Regions from separate parts of the Homo sapiens genome. Here region 2 is linked to region 1. The links are contacts of gene promoters, found by promoter capture Hi-C in human tissues and cell types (Jung and others, 2019). All regions are on one chromosome and are shown on one strand. Each heading gives the region's core, a stretch centred on a gene start or on the middle of the fragment in contact. The rest is flanking DNA. Distances are from core to core; before and after follow the strand shown. Region 1 holds the start of DYM (dymeclin). Region 2 overlaps DYM (dymeclin).

Region 1 (3,499 bases), core at 46-2,545:
AAAATAAAACTTCAAAGCAGGATAATCACTCCAGAAATCCATATATTCATAAATTTCATCCTCTGCAACAACCATTCACCCATTCCTATAGATTCTCTTCCCTTCCACCTCGTTCTTCTCTTGAGCCCTCAACTCATCAGCCTAAGCACCTGAGTTCCTCTGGTGGACGCTACATTCCTCTCCACGGCCTCCACCCTCCAGGTTTTCATCCTTCAGCACATCACCCTTGCTCTACACACCCCTCTCTCCAACTTCCCCTCTCCTCTTTCAAGGAACTCACTCCATCTGTGCCCCCTAATCAGTCTATCCTGGGTACCCGCTTTGCTGGCCGATTACAATCATCCCATCACTTCTCTACCCCTGTTCAGTAGAGAACAGCTTTATCCAATCAGCTTTACCACACCAATACCCTCAAACCCCACTACTGCCCCCAGTTCACAAACACCCACCCTTTCACTTTTCAGTCAAAACACAATTGCTCAGGCAAATCCACGGCGACTGAAAGTAGATCAATAGTGTAGGGGAGAGAAGGAGGAGTGACTGCTAATGGGTACGAGCTTCTTTGGGGCGGGGGGGGCGGTGATTAAAAATGCTCTGGAGTTAAGGGTGGTGATGGCTGCTCAACCCTGTGAATATACTAAAAACCACTGAGTTGTACTTTTAAAGGGTTAATTTTCTGATATGTTAGTTATACCTCGATAAACTATGAATGTAAAAAGAAGAAAGAAAAACCCAACAGCTATTGCTCACCCTGCCCATCACACGCCCATTTGTCAGACCAACACCGCCCCATCTCCGGAAGCACCGACTTGGCCTTCGGTATCCCCCAACTCCCAACAGCGGACTCGGACAGAGGTCCGTCCGCTGTCAGCACAGCCCCTCCGGGTGGCCCAGGCGCCCGCGGGCAGGGAAGGGAGGGTCCCTTCGCCGCCGCCCCGGGGCGCTGGCCGGGTTGCGGAGGGTGGCCCCTGACCCCCTCTGACAGGAGGCCGGGGACAGCCAGGCTTTCGGGCCCGGCCGCGCTGAGGGGGGCGGCGCTACAGCCCACCTGTCTCAGCCGGCTGGGGGATCTGCTCCAGCTCCACGGACCCGCGGACGGATGGGAGGGTGGCAGAGGGGTCAGGAGAAGTCGCTGTCGCCGCCGCAGCCCAGGTGGCGCACACCGGCTCAGGCCTCCATGTTTCCACGTCTCAGCGGGTACAGATCCGGCTCCGGTCCGGCCTGCAGCTCGGCCCCGGCTCGGCTCCAGCCCGGGCCGCGTCGGTGCGGAGGCCAGGAGGCGGCGAGAGAAGAGGGAAGCGACCGAGAACGCGGCTAGGGACCAGACCCCCAGGCGCGCGCGCCAGCCAGGTGGTCACGTGGCACGCGGCGCGCGCGGGCTTCTGGAAACTGTAGTCCTTTGGGTGTTATTCGTGCCTCCGCCCTCCTAGTACCTCCTGGGCTACCGCAAAGCCACGTGGCGAAATCGAGAAGCGCAAAAACAGCCGTGCGCGGTGGCTCACGCCTGTAATCCCAGCACTTTAGGAGGCCGAGGTGGACGGATCACGAGGTCAGGAGATCGAGACCATCCTGGCCAGCATGGTGAAACCCCGTCTCCACTAAAAATACAAAAAGTAGCTGTTTGAGACAGGATAATCGTTTGAACCCGAGAGGCGGAGATTGCAGTGAGTCAAAAAGTAGCTGTCTGAGGCAGGAGAATCGTTTGAACCCGAGAGGCGGAGATTGCAGTGAGTCGAGATCGGGCCACTGCACTCCAGCCTTGCGACAGAGCTCGACTCTTCTCAAAAAAAAAAAAAGAGAGAGAGAGAGAAGCGCAAAAACCTCACCTGCCGGGTGCTAGAGTCAACCTCACCTGCCAGGTGCTAGAGTCCTCGCTCATGCTACACCGCTCGTTCTGGCGGCTTAACCTTATTAAGGCCTCTGTTAATTGCAGCTGAATAACCATCCCAAAGTCAAGCAATATTGTGTGGGATTCTGGAGAATTGAGAAATAGCAAAATAATTTTTGATGGAGGCAGCTGGCAGGGCTAGCCCTGCCTGCAAAGTTGTCGGAAAGGACAGGTCCCACGGGAAAGAGTAGCAATATGAGATAGTGCCAAAACTATGGAATTTGAAGTCAAATGAGCTGAGGTTTCCACACTGACGTCTTTGAGCAATTACTTCACCTCTCTCAGCCAGTTTCCTCACCTAAAATATATGCATGATGATGATTCTGCCATTACAGGAAATGTTGACATGACTGTAGTAATAACAATTCACATTATGGATTATTTTCTATTTGCCATGCACTATTATTTCGCAAAATGACCCTATGGAACAGATAGCACCGTTATTCCCATTATATAGTCAATATGTGCCAGTGTACTCTGTAAAGTACTATACAAATATTAGGTATTCTTTTCTAGCATAGACTGCCAGTAAATTCACTGAGCTTGCAGAATTATGACAGGAAAACATATTAAAACCCAAAGTAGACTGGGCCCTGTGGCTTATGCCTGTAATCCCAATACTTTGGGAGGCTAAGGTGGGAGGATCACTTGAGCCCAGGAGTTCGGAAGGACCAGCCTGAGCAACATAGCGATACACTGTCTCAACAAAAAATACAAAAATTAGCTGGGAGTGGTTGGCACACCCTCGGTCCCGGCTACTCGGGAGGCTGATGTGGGAAAATCGCTTGAGCCCGGGAGGTTGAGGCTTCAGGGAGCCATAATCTCACCATTGCACTCTACCCTGGGCAACAGAACGAGACACTGTCTCAAAAAAAAAAAAAAACCCCAAACTACCTAACTAAAAAGCCATAGACACTACTATGCAGTCATTGTAAAGAATGCTATGGATGCATATTTATTTGAAAACATTTTCATGATACACTGAGTGGAAACATATATAGTATCAAATTTTCATAAGTGAATTATATTAGGTTGGTGCAAAACTAATTGTGGTTTTGCCACTTAATATAATATTTATATTAATATATTAAATGATATATTAATATAACATATGTAATATATGTTTACTATAATATTTATAATACCTATGTATATGTGCTGTTGGAAAAAAGACAAATAATATTAACAATATTGCAACTTTGGGTAATGAGATCCTGTGTGGTTAAAATTAGTTTTTCCCTATGTTTTCTAATTTTTCTGCAAGGAATATGAAGTACATGTACAATTTTATTTTAAAATTACAGCAAAAAGAGACTCAGGGCTGGGCGTGGTGACTCATGCCTGTGATCCCAACACTTTGGGAGGCCGAAGCAGGCAGATCACCTGAGGTCAGCAGTTTGAGACCAGCCTGCCCATCATGGCGAAACCCCGTCTCTACGAAAAATACAAAATTAGCCAGGCATGCGCCTGTAGCCCCAACTACTCAGGAGGCTGATGCAGGAGAATCACTTGAACCCAGACGGTGGAGGTTGCCACGAGCCGAGATCATACCCCTGTACTCCAGCCTGGGTGACAGAGCCAGACTCTGTCTCAAAAAAATAAAAAATAAAA
Region 2 (3,589 bases), core at 502-3,001, 400 kb before region 1:
TGTAAATACATCTTCTATGGTTTCTACCTCTAAGTGCATACGAAACACTTTCTGATGAAGAAAGATGTTTCAAGATAAAACTTCTGATTAAATCCCTCTTGCAAGGATTATTAGTGTCCTTATAGAAAAGACCACAGCCAGCCAGCTAGTCCCGTCCACCATGTAAGGACACAGCTAGAGGGTGCTGTCTACGAACCACAAAGTGGGCCCTCAGCAGACACCAAATCTGCTGGTGCTTTGATCTTAGACTTCTCAGCCTCCAGGACAGTGAAAAGTAAGTTCTGTTGTTTATAAGCCTCCCATTCCACAGTATTTGGTTATAGCAGCCCCAGCGAACTAAGACAAAAGGTGACCTGCTCACCCATGCATCCTTCTTTCCTTTTTATTAATATTTACATTATAACTGTAATCACTAGTGCTTTAACAAATACAATGGTGATACAAAATAATGGTCATCTTTGCCACCTGGTTGATGGGTCTGCATCACTGAGCTGTGACTGTACCAGGACCCTAACACAATGGTTGATCCTTAGCTGTTTTCCTGGCTGTTCCGGAAGTCAGGCCTGTAGCAAGGGGCTCAGCTGGCAGTTAGGGGCCCAGGTGGCTGCTACACAGTGTGGTGGTATGAGGGAGGGGGCTGTGCTGGGAGTCCTGCAAGCTGAAGGCTTACTCAGTACCACCGGAGACCCAACATCTTATTATGGAAAATTACCCATGCACACCAAAGTGGGGAAAATAATACAGTGAACACTGTGTGCCCATCAACCAGCTACAAGCCATTAACTCATGGGCACTCATTTAAGCTACCCCAACTTCCCTCCTCTGAATTAGTTTGATGTTAATTCTGGACATTATATATTTTCACTCTTAAATATTAACCTAATTAAACAGGTAAGAACATTTTACCCTGCTTTAAGAAAACCCAATATGAGAATAAAATAAATTATAGGGTGACGTTTTGTACCATAAAAGCATTTAATAAAAATATGAAATATGGTCCCTGCCCTTAAGGATCTTAACATTTACTTGGAGAGCTAAGATAAATGCAAATGAAAAAAAATCACTAAAAAGCAATCCTCTAACATAACCTAATGTTAGAAAGTACAATGCAATAATTGCCAGTTCTGATTTGTATGGACTCTGGAGTCTCCACAAACTGGGTGCCCAGGACCTCTGAGCTTCATTTGCTTCCTCTCCTTTAAGCAAACCATCAGCCTCTGCCAGGTGAGCTCCCTGGGGTCCCCTGCACACTTCAGGCAAATGCCCGCCTCCATGCCTTTTCTGACAGGTCTCTTTATAGCTAGGATGTCCTTCCCACCACACTTCCATTTCCTACAGTGCTGGTGCGGATGCTTCCCTCCCTCCAGAGTCTTAAGTGGTCCTCTCCAGTGCCCAGTATCTGCCTGCTTACAGCATTACCTGTATATTTCCTACAAAGTGCCTGGCTGGACATGGGTTTGGATAGTTTCCATTCACTACTGGACATAAATGATTTGAAGGTAGGCTCTCTGTGTGCCATGCAGCCCCAGGTCAGGCATTGCTGAGTGAGGAACAGTACCCTCTGCCACAGGGTGGCTTAGAGAAGGGAGGGGGGAGAGAGGGGGAGAGGGGGAGAGGGGGAGAGGAGGAGAGGGGAAGGGAGGGGGGAGGGGGGAGAGACGGAGGGGGAGAGAGGGAGGTGGGGGGAGAGAGGGAGAGGGAGAAGGAGGGAGAGAGAGAGAGAGAGGGGGAGAGAGGGAGAGGGAGAAGGAGGGAGAGAGAGAGAGACCGTGAAAAGTACAGTCAGGGGATGCTGGCAAGATAGTTCACCTGGGGTGGTCCTGATGGAGAGGAGAGAAGTGTAAGGCACTGCCTAGTCAGGGAAATTGTTCAGAAGCCTGGCTGAGAAAAAGATTTGAACCATCCCTTTCTGAGCAGTTCCTGGGTAGTGAGGGGGGCATGAACAAAAAAGTCCATAATAAAAACCTGATCATGTTACTCTGTGCTTAAAAAAATCTCAATGGCTTCTCAATGGAAACCACTGCCACAGAAGATACCAAAAAGTAGAGGCAGCGCCTCCGAACCATGGTGTTCATAATCTAGACATGGAGATAAAACATGTACAAAAATAACTATCAGACAAGATAGGAGGTGATAATATCATCTGAAGTGTGCAAATAAGTGTAATCTGTGGGGATCCAGGGAAGGGAGAAATTAAACTGGAAGCATCAAGAAAGGCTTCAAGGAGGAGAAGGCACCTAGGTGGTCTGTAAACAAAGGGTAGGATTTGGGCATGTGGAGGTGGGGGGAAGGGCATCCCAGGCAGAGGAATAATAGAAGCACAGACAGGGAGACAGAAAAGCACAAGGGTGCCCACGGACCAGCCGGTGTGTTTGAGAATAAGAGGGGGAATGTGAAAATAGCTTGGAAGGCAGGTTTATGGAGATCTGCTGAGACTGAGCCTAGACTTTTCTGCATACAAAGTGGGGCCACTCCACGCACCTGAGCAAAGCTGTGCCCAGGACCTCAGCGTGCTCTTGGGAGACTACTTGGGAAACAATGTGGTCCCTCTGGATGGGAGGGAAGCAGCCCTTGGAGGGGAGCAGCTGGGGGACTAGTGCAGGGTCTAGGCGATGGGGGCTGAGGGCCAGGACCCAAAGATGACAGTGGGAACAGAGGAGAGCTGGCAGTGCCACCAGGGTGAGTGGGCAGAGAGACTTGGCAGCTCTTCACAGCTGCCTCTCCCCAGAAAGGGAAGGAAATCAGGGCTGGGAAGGAAGAGATCTAGAAATGAATCCAAGAGCTTCCTCTGTAAATAGTCAAACTTCATATGTTTAGAGTCCAGTGACCTGTGTTGCTTTTGTTTTTCCCTAGAAACAAAAGAGCACACAAATAAAATTCTGTTTCCATCCTCCATCTGGCTCCATCCTAATAAGTCTTTATTTTTCTGATACGGTCTCTCTTTGAGCCAGTTTGCCTCTGGGAAAGGGTCTCTGTGCAGCTGACCTCATGGTGCCTGGATGTTCAGTTTAGCAGTAGCTGCAGAGACAAGCCTCCAGGCCTGATAGCCTCATAGCCCAGATTAAGCAAGCTGTCTGGAAGGCTTGTCAGAATTATAATTCTCCTGCCTTTATCTTCAAAGGTTAGAAAACGGGGAGAGAGAGACTGGGAGAAAGTCCCAATACACATTTCTGAAGGAAGGAGGTTTTACTTATTCTATACATTTTAATCTGATTGTCAGCCCTATAAATCTTACAAAACTAAAACAATGGCTTAGGAACAAGGGCAGACTCACTGTCACCAACGATTAACTTTCTGATCACAGTCTAGGAAGCACACTCTTATCTAGCCCAGCTCAGGACCTGCTGACTATGACCTAGTCAGTCCCCAGGCCTTGACTGTGGGATCTCCGAGGCCTGCAAATACAGCCACTGATGGACTCTTCTGGTCCTCCTGCCATAAATGTGAAGCCAGCAAGCTTCCTCCCACAGGTTTCAGGGAAAACCACGAGCCCTTAAGATTCCCGAGACAAGAGTTAAAGTGGACTAGACTCCAGGTGCTTTGCACCAACGGCACAGTGCCCAGCCCTGACTGCCATGCACAGAACACA

Evidence for each region. Contacts are between HindIII fragments. The study calls those that stand out against the background at their distance.
Region 2: a fragment that was not itself captured here is called in contact with the fragment with the promoter of DYM in region 1 in 1 of the 25 tissues and cell types used here (lymphoblastoid cells).

The regions. Positions count from the first base shown.
Region 1 is chr18:49,459,350-49,462,848 of GRCh38, forward strand. It overlaps DYM (dymeclin), which reads right to left and starts at 1,296. Exons shown (of 18, transcript NM_001353214.3): 1 at 1,049-1,296. RefSeq lists a silencer at 695-1,274. The HindIII fragment of the contact is 14,393 bases long and covers 1-3,499 here.
Region 2 is chr18:49,059,040-49,062,628 of GRCh38, forward strand. The region is part of intron 17 of DYM (dymeclin); the gene reads right to left. Among named protein-coding and RNA genes, the nearest start is that of MIR4744, 11 kb to the left of the region's middle. The HindIII fragment of the contact is 6,065 bases long and covers 1-3,589 here.